3 separate regions of the Homo sapiens genome follow, and regions 2 and 3 are each linked to region 1. Evidence: promoter capture Hi-C in human tissues and cell types (Jung and others, 2019). All regions are on one chromosome and are shown on one strand. The core of a region is centred on a gene start or on the middle of the fragment in contact, and the rest is flanking DNA. Distances in the headings are between cores, read along the strand shown. Region 1 holds the start of BIVM (basic, immunoglobulin-like variable motif containing). Region 2 has its middle 27 kb from the start of TPP2. Region 3 overlaps TPP2 (tripeptidyl peptidase 2).

Evidence for each region. Contacts are between HindIII fragments. The study calls those that stand out against the background at their distance.
Region 2: a contact is called between a fragment that was not itself captured here and the fragment with the promoter of BIVM in region 1, in 3 of the 25 tissues and cell types used here (adrenal gland, bladder and spleen).
Region 3: a fragment that was not itself captured here is called in contact with the fragment with the promoter of BIVM in region 1 in 1 of the 25 tissues and cell types used here (H1 embryonic stem cells).

What each region holds. Positions count from the first base shown.
Region 1 is chr13:102,796,388-102,801,280 of GRCh38, reverse strand. BIVM (basic, immunoglobulin-like variable motif containing) reads right to left here and starts at 2,162. Exons shown (of 11, transcript NM_017693.4): 1 at 1,760-2,162. It overlaps POGLUT2 (protein O-glucosyltransferase 2), which reads left to right and starts at 2,305. Exons shown (of 10, transcript NM_024089.3): 1 at 2,305-2,792; 2 at 4,272-4,477. The coding sequence starts at 2,611. RefSeq lists silencers at 536-965, 996-1,045, 1,606-1,875 and an enhancer at 1,936-2,155. The HindIII fragment of the contact is 13,413 bases long and covers 1-4,893 here.
Region 2 is chr13:102,567,753-102,572,645 of GRCh38, reverse strand. No RefSeq gene overlaps it. Among named protein-coding and RNA genes, the nearest start is that of TPP2, 27 kb to the left of the region's middle. The HindIII fragment of the contact is 4,812 bases long and covers 556-4,893 here.
Region 3 is chr13:102,605,515-102,610,407 of GRCh38, reverse strand. All of the region lies in intron 2 of TPP2 (tripeptidyl peptidase 2), which reads right to left. Among named protein-coding and RNA genes, the nearest start is that of TPP2, 11 kb to the right of the region's middle. The HindIII fragment of the contact is 4,936 bases long and covers 275-4,893 here.

The DNA of each region.
Region 1 (4,893 bases), core at 913-3,412:
AGCAAAACTCCGTCTCAAAAAAAAAAAAAAAAAAATTTACTACTAAGAATGACTGCAGGACCTCAGGCTCAACTAATAGCTTACTCATAAAATCATGTCATAAGCAATAGAAATATGGTTTGCTCGTATGCAAAGCAAAAATTTATAAAATGGCAAGTTTAAAAAGCACCGCCAGAGTCATGATTGTTCAAAGTCACTGAACGAAGTGTTCTGTAAAATAAACGTCCATTTGTAAAGCCAATCTTCATCGCCTAGGTTGTAGTCTTTTCAGGTTATATTTTGTCTGTATTCTCAAGTATCAAGTTTATGAGAGAACCAAACATCTCTAAAAACCTCTTCAGTAAAGCCTTTTCGTATAACAAAATACCCTGATCGATATCCTGTATAGAAGGCAACTGAGGAGCAGGGGCATTCCGGTGACCTCGTAAGGGTCGAATATGCGCGGGAGGGCGAAACCAGAGGCGCATAGCCCCCGGCCGAGCTAATGCCACCCTTCCCACCCGGTGTCCTCCCGCGCCCTCCAGGCCCCTTCCTCCCCTTCAGACCTGCGGGTCCCCAGAGCCGAGGCGCCAGCCTGTCAAAAGATACCGGGAGTCCTCCGCGCCTGGCGCCAGCCTCCAGCCCGCGCCCCTGGGGAGGCCGGGAGCGTTTCCACCACCGTCCTCTGACAAGCTCGCCGCTCGGCCGGGCTCCGAGGCCGCCGGGACGGAGTAGACAGTCGCGCAGGCCAAGCCCCGCCGCGCAGAACCAGTGCGCGCGGAGGCGACGCGGGCAGAGAGGAAGGAGCGCGGCTGCGCTCCCTGCCCGTGGCCAACCCAGCCCGCGCCTCCGCGCGTGTCGCGGGCACCCCGAGTCCCCAGCCCGCAGAGCCCAAGGGCCGCCGAGGCCTCCTCGCCCCTACTCCCTCCTCTACCTTCCCTCACCGGCCGGAAGACGAGGCTCTCCGCCAGGGGGAGCGCGCCGAGGCCCGGGGGTGACCGCCTCGAACATGCTTGCCCCGGGCCCCGGGGACGCTGTTGGTGTTAAAGGGGGCCCACGGGCAATTGCTGCATCCGGGCTAAGAGCTGGGGCTCCGATTCGACTGTTTGAGTAAACGAGTCGGTATCATTAATAATGACAATTGCACAAAAGAAAATAGGAAAGAAACCCCCTTTCCTGGCGCCGAACCAGGCCCGCCTTGGCTCGGAGCCACCGGCTCTTCTGGGTTTTCGGGGCAGCTGGCAAGAGGGAGGCAGGCAGAGGAGGCGGCTCCGGGTCCGACTGCCAAGCTGACCAGGGCGGTGAGCCCGTGACTCCTGGCGGCGGCCCAGACCCGGGTGCTGGCGTGCAGGGGAAGGCGACGGCCGCTGCGCGCTGGTTCCCGGACCCTGCCCAGCGTGGCGTGGAGACCGACGGCCGCACAGGGGTCACCGGTATCCACATGGACACCTCCTAATCGAGCTTTGTTCACCAGAGGGCTAGGCCCTTCTTTCCCTGGCGCTTCTCTTCCCCCCGCGACACAGCTCTTCCCCCTACTCCTTCCCGGGAGAGCGCGCACCCATGCAGTGGCCTCCATCTGGACGCCACGGGGCTCGGAGAGGCGATGACCCCTGGCAGCCCAGGCCGGTATCGAATTAAGTAAAAATTTTGAATGCCCAGGTGGCTGCGCGTAGAGCGGCAGCAGGCCGGGCTGGCGGCGCCCAGGTGCCCAGCGGAGGGCCAGGCGCTCAGAGCGCACAGCCGGCCGCCACCTCGGCCCCTGCCCCCCGCCCCGGGGTACCTCTGGCCTGTCGGGTGGGGTCGGGTCGCTGCGGCCGCGGCGGAACCCGGCTCCGGACCTGGATCACAGCATCCAGCGCGCGGCCGGCGAGGCGCCTCCTGTTACCCTGGGGCCGGCGTCCCTCGTCCCATCGGAGCGAGCGAGGATGCTGCGGTGCCCGGCGACAGGTCGTCGGATAGCATTGACAGCACCTTCCTTTCAAGGTGCTTTATGCCTGCCCTCTCCACGTGCGGAGGGCAGGGTGACCAACGCAAAAACCTGAGCTGCGCCTCCAGACCCGTGCGCCCCTTTGATGGGCATCTGTGGTGTTTATCTGTCCCCCGAAAGCGGTGACCGAGAAGTAAATAAATGGGCGAGAGGTGGTAAAATCCTGGCAGTATTTCCGCTCGTCCTGTCGCGAACTACATATCCCAGGGAGCCCGGGGCGCCGGGACGCGTGTCCACCCCGCCATCCACTTGGAGAAGGCGTTACTGAGCCTGGCCCGACGCACGGGCCAATCCCCTCGCCCTACACCTTGGCTGGAACCTGAGACGGATTCGCTCCCAAATGATGCTCCAGTGGCAGGAGCAACTCAAGTTCATCATTGTCCTGAGAGAGAGGAGCAGCGCGGTTCTCGGCCGGGACAGCAGAACGCCAGGGGACCCTCACCTGGGCGCGCCGGGGCACGGGCTTTGATTGTCCTGGGGTCGCGGAGACCCGCGCGCCTGCCCTGCACGCCGGGCGGCAACCTTTGCAGTCGCGTTGGCTGCTGCGATCGGCCGGCGGGTCCCTGCCGAAGGCTCGGCTGCTTCTGTCCACCTCTTACACTTCTTCATTTATCGGTGGATCATTTCGAGAGTCCGTCTTGTAAATGTTTGGCACTTTGCTACTTTATTGCTTCTTTCTGGCGACAGTTCCAGCACTCGCCGAGACCGGCGGAGAAAGGCAGCTGAGCCCGGAGAAGAGCGAAATATGGGGACCCGGGCTAAAAGCAGACGTCGTCCTTCCCGCCCGCTATTTCTATATTCAGGCAGTGGATACATCAGGGAATAAGTAAGTCGAGAAACGGCTCCTTACCTATTTTGGATGGCGGTTAAATCTGTTTCTCCCTTTAAGATTTTTCTTTCCAAGAACTCGTTTCTCCACAGCAGTTTATATTCCAGGATATTTGGTTACCCATTTTTCTCTGTAGCTGTAGAAATTGTTCCGAATTATAATATATGCAATATAATGTATTGTATATAACATATAAAATAATCTCCTAGCAATTTTGATTCAGATTCCCACATTATCAGGGCAAGACAAAGTCCCTCCACTTTGCTGGAAATACTGTTTCTAACTACTTTTCGCATAAGCTATTATAAGGGATTTAAACCTAGTTGTTAGAGACTTGATGGGCTTCATCTTTCTCTGGTGCGGCCCTCAATTTTCAAGGAGACATCTGCAGGTAAGCATGTTTTGAAACTGAAAAAGAAAAATGAAGTACTATTTGAAACTTCAGAGTTCGGAAGGAAAGTATCGAAGTATTAATCTCCTATATGATTGTAACAAATATTTTGTTCCAATGAATTTAATACTTTAACATCATACTTAAAACTTATTTTTATAATTCCTATACTTCTGAAATGATTGTCTCTATTATTGGTGGATGCTGACTGTGTGTATTTCATACAGAAAAAAATACTGGAATAAAAGGTTGTCAAGTAAAAGGCAGGTTGTAAATTTTGTTATTTGGCAAAAGATGATACACTACCTACTACTTTGCTTTTGCCCATGGCTGAGCGTGAGTTTTTTTTTTTTAAGACAGGGTTTCACTTCCTAGCCTAGTCTGGAGTGCAGTGGTGCAATCACAGCTCACTGTACCCTCAACCTCCCAGGCTGAAGCTATCCTCCCACCTCAGCCTCCCTAGTAGTTGGGACTACAGGCGTGTGCCACCTCGCCTGGCTATTTGTTTTTTATTATTATTATTATTATTTGTAGAGACAGGATCTCACCTTGTTGCCCAGGCTGATCTCGAACTCCTGGCCTCAAGCAGTCTTCCCTCCTTGGCCTCCCAAGATGTTGAGATAGTAGGCATGGGCCACAGTGCCAGGCCTGAGCGTGATTTATAATACTGATATTGTAAAGATTCATTGGCAGAGATTTTTCAAAATAAGATCATTATCTTTGGGAGCATCATTTGATCACAAATATCCAGATGTGATAGCATGAAATAAGTTAGTAAGAATATTTTTCCATATGGAATGCATGAGTATGTTCTGTGCTTATATAGATTAATAGTCTTAACATACTCCATTGTGACTGTTTAATGAAACTGTTTCATGTTATCTTGGCCATTGTCATCCTCATTTTTTTAAATCTCTGATCCATCATATTCATTCTGGTACTAAAAGCATAAGAGAAGAAGAAGCAATCATATGTTAGAGGAAGAATGTGGAGGAGAATAATCAAGTTTCCAGACTGAAGAGCATAACCTTTGTGTGTTTGTTCGTTAAAATCTGTTTATCTCCCCCATTGCCTTTTCATCACAGATTCACATCTTCTCCAGGCGAAAAGGTCTTCCAGGTGAAAGTCTCAGCACCAGAGGAGCAATTCACTAGAGTTGGAGTCCAGGTTTTAGACCGAAAAGATGGGTCCTTCATAGTAAGATACAGAATGTATGCAAGCTACAAAAATCTGAAGGTGGAAATTAAATTCCAAGGGCAACATGTGGCCAAATCCCCATATATTTTAAAAGGTAATTTGGAATATAATTTTATAACAGCAGTATTTGAATAAAATAATATATGTTATTCCATCAACAAAAACAACTTGGCATGATATATATATATATATATATATTTTTTTTTTTTTTTTTACTGAAAGAAGAAAAATAAAGGCTTTCTACTTGAAAGCTAAGTTATGAGTCCTGGTAAAAAGACATTCAAGATTTGAACGGAAATTCTGATTTGCTAAAGAGCAAGGAACATATTAGTAGAGAATTTACTCCGCGAAGACATACATTAGCAAGAATAATCAAGCTGTGTTCATGCTCATATATGATACTTTCTTAATTGGAAATATATGACTTAAGTAACTGATAAGTGTTATTGAAATTAGGTAGATCACTTCAGGAAGGGAGATAGCTCGAAAGACAAGGAGCGCACTGGTGGT
Region 2 (4,893 bases), core at 1,712-4,211, 230 kb after region 1:
TATTCCTTCTCCAAATCTGATGACCGGCAAAGCTCTTAAATTGCATGCACATATTTATGTGTCACATGTAAACGCTGTTCATGTCATCTGGATATCAGTCAGTCACCAAAACGAAAAGTAGGTTTGACAGGCCAGATCTGGTGGCTCGTAAATGTAGATTTCCATCAAAGAACAAAGACCTGAGCAGTGTTCCGAACAAGGAAGATCCTGTAGATGTCTCCAGTTCGTCTTCTATATTTGCACTTGTGAGATCATTAGTCAGCTGTATTATTTATCTCCTACACAAAAATATTTCAAGGTCTGTGGGAGTTTTCTCCAGTTAAGGTTAATCAATTTTTATTACTCTCAGTTTATAGCTTCCCAGATGCTTAAGTTGGTGAAGACTTTCTTGTTTTTAATTTAAGAAAAGAGAGTTCCTTATTTGTCCCCTTTCAACCATTCTTGAAGACTTGAACTCACATGGCTATTAAAAATGATGAACAGAGAGACTTAGATTTTCACTGAATGTCTCTGAGAAACATCTGCAGCATAGCATATCATGATAAAGTAAGAATAAGGGAGGAATGTTAACAGTTTTAGGCTTTGAAACTTAGTATGTTTCCCCTGAACCTTTTGAAAACCCATAAGCTCTACATTTTTAAACTGAGGAGAATTACAATGTAATTTGTTTAGCTAAATAAATCATTTATACAGGAGGAATAGTATTTGTGCTAAGCTCTAATTTACTATGAAACAAAGAGCTAGATTTAATGTAATTGTGTTTCTGCATATAATAAAATCTACACATACATTTTGTCCTAAAAATAAGTTATTAAGGCTGGACGCAGTGGCTCACGCCTGTAATCCCAGCACTTTGGGAGGCCGAGACAGATGGATCACCTGAGGTCAGGAGTTCGAGACCAGCCTGGCCAACATGGTGAAACCCTGTCTCTACTAAAAATACAAAAAAAGTTTGCCGGGCCTGGTGGTGGGTGCCTGTAATCCCAGCTACTTGAGAGGCTGAGGCAGGAGAATCACTTGAACCTGGGAGGCAGAGGTTGCAGTGAGCCAAGATCACGCCATTGTACTCCAGCCTAGGCAACAAGAGCAAAACTCTGGCTCAAAACAAACAAATAAATAAATAAATATAAAAATAAGTTATTAAGCGAGCTCCTGGGCTTCCATGTGACTCTGGCTTGCTATTACAAATGCTCCAGACCACCAAACTGGATTCCTTTCCTAAAATTGCAAATGAGATTTCCCCACCTTACCTTGGTATCCTCAGATATTACCTTTGCCGATATTTTCTTCATTGTTTCCCAGAAATCAATGATGCAACTAATATGATCTGCAATTTTTTCACCAATAGAGGGAACCATCCACCTGCATTTCTTTGCTGTGTCCTACCAGAGCCCCCAGGGCCTCATGGCTTCTGTGGGTTGCTTTCCATCTCCTCCTCTGGCTCCTGAACGGGTCCTGTCCTCTGTGCTCCAGCTGAAGCAGTGCCGTTTGTCTTTTCCCCTGCTCTCGCCAATCCTGTCTCCAGCAGATCCCTTTCAGGATTTTTTTGTTGTTACCAGCCAGTGCCAGGAGTGAAGAATATAGATTTTGGTATCTGTGCCTGCACTCTAATTCCACTTCACAGCAAGCCATGGAGTTTGCCTTAACTTCACTTCTATATAAAGCTGCTTTAATTTTCTTAAAACTCACGACTTGCATTTAAATTGATTCCATCAGTCAACAAATATTCCCTATATACAGCATTTACAAGCTTCCTGCAAATGCAATCCAAATGAAGAGTTCAGGTTAAAAGGGGCTTTCAATACACCATCTCGGGAGACTCGGTGGTAGAATCTCATGGGATACAGGCATTCATATGCAGTCTGTAGTAATAGTTTCCTACTGTGGAGATTTTTCAACATCTTTAGATTGAAAAAAACCATCTTTATATATAAATGTCATAATTTTTTTGCATGACTTTCAAGGAAAAAGTAATGGATGATATTTCTGGAGTACTTAGCTCCAAGGCTTAATGGGGATGAAGGTACTGGAGGAGATATTTTCTTTGATACAGTAAATGAATTAGGAAAGTGTTGCTTATAGGGACATTTAAAAACATGGACATGCAGAAACTTGCAAAGCGGGTAAATACATGTGAGTTAGAGACTGAGAGATAGAGAGAAGAAATGAAAGCAGGAGATAGAGCAAGTGTATTTTCATCTTAGTATTTAGCAAGTATAATCAGGCAGTGCAGGTGACCACACTGAACATAAGGCTGTCATCTGGGTGCTTCAGGAACTTCGTGCTGAGCGAGAGGGAGGAGAACAGCTGTCAGGAACAGCTGGAACAAAAAGGTTCTTGAATCATGTGACTACCATGCAATGAGATTGGCACGTGTCACCGTTGTACATGATCCTTATTAGATAGACTGTCACCCACAGGTCCTGTGTCTTTTCCATCTTTCACAACTCCTCCTTGCTGAGGGATTGCCCTCCTTCTCCCCCACACTGGACCATTTAACTGAATTCCCCAGGATGCAGAGGTCCTTAGTTGAGAATTAAGGAGTGCAGCCATACTCAGAGACATGCCTTCCAGGGCAGATGTCAGCACAGTAAAGACTGTCTTCTTTGCTATTAGGCAAGGCATGGACTGTAGTAATAGCTGCTGCATGTTGTTAAAACATCTTTGATACAGTAGATTCTCAGATTTTCTGAGCAAACTGCCTTGGGCAGAATAGGTACTCCATAAATGTTTATGGTTAATGGTTTCTAGGACTTTCATTATCAATGTCATCTTTACAGCTCACCATTCTGGCTGGAGAAATGGAAATTCAGTGAAAACAAGCAAGCAGTCCTGTCTTTCCTAGTATGAATATACCTAAAGAAATGAGCTAATCATAAATTTCTTACCAGACTGCAATTTCCCAATTGTTTTTGCTGAATTCTGTTGAGCATACATATGTGATGACTGCTCAAACGATTCCCTGTGACACCCCCTCAAATGAGAAGGCATCTGTTTGGCCTCAGTTGGGAAAGCATGCTAAAAATGTCTCCACTTTGGCATTAAATCAGCTTATTGCAGCAGTGTACACTCCAAAGTAGATGTTTCTTGCTTTTTCTCTTTTAGAGAAGTGATTTCATTTATAATCTATTTCTGGATAATCCAGGGACTTTACACATTGCATTTGACCTAAATGCTAAGGTAAGGACAAGTTTCTGCTAGTAAGAAATGATAACAGTTTTTTTTTTTCTTAGACAGAGTCTCACTCTGTCGCCCAGGCTGAAGTGCAATGGCACAATCTCGGCTCACTGCAACCTCCGCCTCCCGGGCTCAAGCGATTCTCCTGCCTTAGCCTCCCAAGTAGCTGGGATTACAGGCACGTGCCACTGAACCCAGCTAATTTTTGTATTTTTAGTAGAGATGGAGTTTCACCATGTTGCCCAGGCTGGTCTTGAACTCCTGACCTCAGGTGATCCACCCGCCTCGGCCTCCTAAAGTGCTGGGATTACAGGTGTGAGTCACTGTGCCCGGCCAGTAACTGTTTTAATTATAATATAAGGTGATCATAAAGAAGAGTTTCTTAATGTTTGGAAAGACTCCTGAGATAAAAATCATAATGACACATGGATATATTAGTTTAGTAGAAAAATCACTTGTCATCCTAAGCCAAAAATTGCCATTTAACAAAATTTAAGCCAAAAGGAGGACTTTCATAGGTGATTTTAAACAATAAGATGAAAGTTTACTTCAAAACAATAATAATTTAAGCTTCTCATCCCTCCCTAAAGTAATGAAATCACTTATTTAGTTAGGATAGCTACAACTTCTATGATATGGGTGCATTAACAAGTTATGTTTTTTTTTAATTATTTTATTTTATTGAGATGGAGTCTCTCTCTGTTGCCCAGGCTGGAGTGTAGTGGCATGATCTTGGCTCACTGCAGCCTCCGCCTCCTGGGTTCAAGAGATTCTCATGCCTTAGCCTCCTGAGTAGCTGGGATTACAGGTGTGTGGCACCACGCCCAGCTAAATTTTGTATTTTTAGTAGAGACAGGATTTCACCATGTTGGCTAGGTTGGTCTCGAACTCCTGGCCTCAAGTGATCTACCTGCCTCGGCCTCCCAAAGTGCTGGGATTACAGGCATGAGCCACCACACCCAGCCACAAGTCACGTTTTAATGCTTTAGTGACACACTAGAATTCACTCCTTAATTGATAGCAGTGATGCTGGAGTTTAGTGATAGATGAGAGTGTATGCTGATGTGACAAGAAGAATGTGCATGAACCCGGTGACATTATAGGTATACATGGTGACTAAAGTATTAGCAGTGTCGGAATAATAGATATCTTCATAGTAGAAGGTCTTTCTCCAAGACAGCCCTGGTAGTCCTCCAATCTTGTTTGCCATCATGAGAATATTTATTACTTTTATACACTGACATAAAACTGAACTCACATTTCATAATTTGGTAGGTGATTTCATGCCTTTTTGTGTTTCTGCTGGATTTAGGGCAGTTACAATTCCCTCCACTGGGCAGCTGTGTTCTCTCAACACCAGGTGAGTGGTCATACTGATGAGGGTTGAGATGTGGGGACCATGGACAGCAGAAAGTAAGTGCTCAGGGCTAGAAAGCAGTCATCGGTGGGGGAGAGAGAGTGCCTCCCAGACAAGGGGAAGCAGCACTGGAGCCTGTGGAAGAAGCTGGGAGAGGGAGGTCAGTGTGCTGGAGGAGCTGCACTACGGCATGAGCAGCTATTGCGGCCAGTGGTGCCTCGGACCATTCCTGATTTCCCTGCCACCTTGGGGGTGTCACCATTATGGCAAGACACCTCAGGACATGCCTCTGTTTACTGAAGTGTGTGCAACAAGGCTGTGTTACTTAGGAGATTTATTAAAGATGCAGCGGCTTTCAC
Region 3 (4,893 bases), core at 1,493-3,992, 190 kb after region 1:
AAATACAAAAAATTAGCCGGGCATGGTGGCGGGTGCCTATAATCCCAGCGACTTGGGAGGCTGAGGCAGGAAAATTGCTGGAACCCAGGAGACGGAGGTTGCAGTGAGCCAAGATCACACCACTGCACTCCAGCCTGGACGACAGAGCAAGACTCTGTCATAAATAAATAAATGAATAAATAAATAAATAAATAAATGCACGACTACATCAAAGAAACTTGAAGACTTCATTGTGCTGCTTTCTGAAAACTATGTACTAAAGAGTTGCAGAGATGCAACTAGTCAGAATCCCAGTGATTAATAATTCTTCCTTTTATTGACTACTGCAAAATATCTAAACACCTGCACATCCCTGAAAAAAATTAAACTGAACATGTGTGTGAGTACATGTTATGGATGGATGGAGAAGAGAGTTCTGACTAAGAAGACTGGCGGAAAATTTGTATAAGAGCACTCCCATTGCCCCATCCCACATCCTGCCCAAACTTCACCAACCAAGCTGAACCAGAGAAAAGCTGACATGTCAACAAAGCAAAGAACAGGTGATATGGTTTGGCTCTGTCTCTACCCAAATCGCATGTCGAAATATAACCCCTTCGTGTCAGGGGAGGGATGTGGTGGGAGGTGACTGGATCATGGGGGTGGATTTCCCCCTTGTTGTTCTTGTGATGATGAATTATTACAAGATCTAATGGTTTAAAAATGCATGGGGGCTGGGCACGGTGGCTCGCGCTTGTAATCCCAGCACTTTGGGAGGCTGAGGCAGGTAGATCACCTGAGGTCAGGAGTCTGAGACCAGCTTGGCCAACATGGTGAAACCCTGTCTCTACTAAAAATACAAAATTAGCCGGGTGTGGTGGCAGACACCTGTAATCCCAGCTACTCAGGAGGCTGAGGCAGGAGAATCGCTTGAACCCGGGTGGCAGATGTTGCAGTGAGTTGAGATCGCGCCATTGCACTCCAGTCTGGGCAACAAGACCAAAACTCCGTCTCAAAAAAAAAAAAAAAAAAAAAAGCATGGCACTTCTCCCTTTGCTGGCTCTCTTTCCTGCTCTATCATGATGAGAAGACATGTCTTGTTTCCCCTTCACCTTCCCCATGATTGTAAGTTTCCTGGGACTCCCAAGTCATGCTTCCTGTTAAGCCTGTAGGACTGTGAGTCGATTAAACCTCTTTTCTTCATAAATTCCCCAGTCTCATGTAGTTCTTCATAGCAATGTGAAAAGGAACTAATACAAAAAGGATGAGACATAAAAATGAGTCTGCATGACATCACTCCAGGCCCCTTGCATGGTGTGGTTACCTGAATACCTACGGCCAGACTTCTTGCTCACTCCTCCCCTAAACCCCAGGCCAAATGGGCTAAGGACTTCTTTAAGGTAACTGGGCATCCTGAGGGAAAAAAATATAGTGTATACTGATATTATGGGGGTTCCCCTAAATGTTATCATTACCCTATAGTGAAACCCACCAAAAGACCCTACATAAGCAGAGGAGCTTCCAATCACCTTTTCTTGTGCCTTGCTAAAATAAGACAGCTAGGGATGATTAGACACCTAAACAAAATATCTAACATAAAAAGCAGAGAACAAGGAAGAGGAGGCAGAGAAAGAGGAAGGAGAGGGTGAAGAAAAAGGGAGAAAGGAGAGGAGGAAGCAGAATAGGAGACTAAGAAAGGAGAACAGGAGGAAGGGGAGGGAAGAAACAATGAAATAGAAAAAAATTAAAATTTTATCTCAGAGATAAAATGTTGCATACATGATACAAAAATATGCTCCCAGTGAACATGAAGGGGCTTTTGCAATTAAAAATAGGCAAAATTTTAAAAAATTCACACAAGGGTTACAATGTTGAGAAAATGCTGGAAATCTCTCAGGAAGGAAAAAGATTAAGGCAATGAAGAAAAGGTGGAAAAAAATTTAAAAATTGGAGGATCAAGTCAAGAGGTCCAATGTTCAATTAACAGGAGTTCCAGAAAAAAACAGCAAAACAACGGAGAGGAAGTTACCTAAGAGAAAATGCAAAAAAAATTCTTGGAAATAAAGGACCTGAGAATTAAACTCTCTTCTTCCACATATTAATTCTACAAGTAAAGATTAAGACTAGAAAAAAAAATCAAGAAATAAAAAATATTAGCATGTTATTTTAAACTGAAGATAATTTAATGTATTAATGTACTGTTAAAGTAGAAAACAGTAGGGGAGAAGTGGGACAGGATTTAACTCTTTTTGTTAGAAGCCTTGTAAAAATATTTGTCTTTTTAAACTATTAAGACATACTGAACACAATTAAAAATTAAGTTTAAAAACCCACAATGAGGGGCTGAGAATACTTAATGTTAGAGCTAAAGAAATACGTCACCAAGCTGAGAAAAGACAAACCTTATAATTTTTTTGACTTTATTTAATAGCAATACATATGGTACACATATAATTCTACCTTTGAACACTAGTGATATTATTAGTTCATGTGGTTTATCTAAAGCCGGGATTACTGCAGCTATTTAAAAATAAATGAGGCCAGGCATGGTGGCTCATGCCTATAATACCAGCACTTTGGGAGGTCGAGGTGGGTGGATCACTTGAGGTCAGGAGTTTGAGACCAGCCTGGCCAACATGGCAAAATTCCATCTCTACTAAAAACACACAAAAAAATTAGCCAAGTGTCATGGCGCATGCCTGTAATCCCAGCTACTCGGGAGGCTGAGGCAGAAGAATCACTTGAATACAGGAAGCAGAGGTCGAGGTGAGCCGAGATTGTGCCATTGTACTTCAACCTGGGCGACAGAGTAAGACTCCATCTCAAAATTAATATAAATAAATAAATGCTCGAGTAATACTTTATATGGCTCTAAGCCTGCAAGACTTACTAGGAATTCTCTCTAGCTTCTCAGAGTACCATAGCTCACAGGAATCCCAAGTTTCCCTTTGAAACATATTCTAATAACAAGGTTGACTTGGGGGAAGACAGGCCAAACTCTAGAGTAATTCAGAAGGCTGAGCATTTCTAACCCGAAAATCTGAAATGCTCCATTGACCATTTCCTTTGAGTGTCATGTTGGCACTCAGAAAGTTCTGGATTTTGGAGCATTTCGGATTTTGGATTAGGGAGGCTCAACTGGTATATTCAATGCAAATATTCCAAAATCTGAAACCTAAAACACTTCTGGTCCCCAGCGTTTCAGATAAGGGATTCTCAACCCGCACCGTAAACTGGATGACTCTGACAATTGAAACTTATTTTTTCATAGTTCTAGGGGCTGGAAGCTCAGCATCAGGGTGCCAGCATGGTTGAGCATAGGTGAAAGCCCTCTTCCTGGCTTACAGAGGCCACCTTCTTGCTGTGTCCTCATATGCCCTAGAAAGAGCTTGCTCTAGAGAGAGCTCTCTGATGTCTCTTCTTATAAGGGTACTAATCCTATCCTGAGGGGACACATACTCATAACCTCATCTAACCCTAAATACCTCCCAAAGGCCCAACTTTCAAATACCAACACAAAGAGGGATAGGGCTTCAATGTATGAATTTTGGCAGGGGGTGGGGACACAGATAATCAGTTCCTAACACACAGAAAAGGAAGTAGAACCTGGATTATTAATGGCTGCTATCTGCCCATGACAGGCAGATTTCTAAGAAGACCCACGTCCCTCCCCTAAGTGAAGGCAGGACCCGTGAATATAATGAGATGTCACTCCCATGATTGCGTTATGGTACGTAAAGAAGGTGTAGGGATTTTGCAGACGCAATTAAGGACTCTGAGCAAATCAAAAGTGACATGATTCTCAGCGGGCCTGAACTAATCAGGTGAGTTCTTTAAAAGAAAGACTGGGGTCATCACCAAGGTCAGAGATTCTCTTACTGGCCTTGAAGAAGCAAGCTATCATGAGTTTTACAGCTGCAATGAAATGAATTTTTCCAACAATCATGTAAACTTGGAAAAGAAGCCTGAGCCTCAGCTGAGCCTTTAATCTTGACTGCAGTCTTGTGAGACCCTGAGCAGAGACCCACAAAAAGCCATGCCTGGACTCCTACCCCATGGAATCAGTGATATAATAAATACAGGAATACACAAGGTTTTAGGCGGCTAAGTCTGTGGTGCTTTATTACACGGCACAGAAAGCCAATATGCTGCCACAACAAGCTTACTTAAAAGACAAGACCTAAGAACAATTCAGATAGATGGCAAAAGGTGGGAAAAGCTAACTAAATAACCATAATTTTATGTTCCAAACTAATGCTGCTTAAGAGTACAGGATCACAAATTCTTGCCATCCATCCTTCATGCTCCTTAGCTCATGAGCTCCTCTGTGCTTGCTTTATAATTATTTTTTACGTTTAGCTTACCCAGGCCTTTCTACCAAGGACATAGAATAAGACAAAGCTGGTAGGCCGAGTGCCCTGGCTCACGCCTATAATCCCAGCACTTTGGGAGGCTGAGACAGGCGGATCACAAGGTCAAGAGTTCGAGACCAGCCTAGCCAAAATGGTGAAACCCTGTCTCTACTAATCATACAAAAATTAGCTGGACGTGGTGGCGGGCACCTGTAATCCCAGCTAATTGGGAGGCTGAGGCAGGAGAATTGCTAGAACCCGGGAGGCGGAGGTTGCAGTGAGCCAAGATTGCACCACTGCACTCTAGCCTGAGCAACGGAGCAAGACTCTATGTCTCGAAAAAAAAAAGAAAAAAAGAAGTTTAAAAAAAAAAAAAAGACAAAGCTGGCCATTTAAGTTAACAGCTACTATAGCCTAAGTATTTCTTCATGGTCAAGTTAACTGGGAATACTATGAAGGGACAGTAAAACATGAAGGCAAAGCTATGATGTGGTTACTTTCTCTATCTTTGTATTCAAAACATAAAATTTGGCAAGCTCACTGAAAAATACCGCCCAATTCT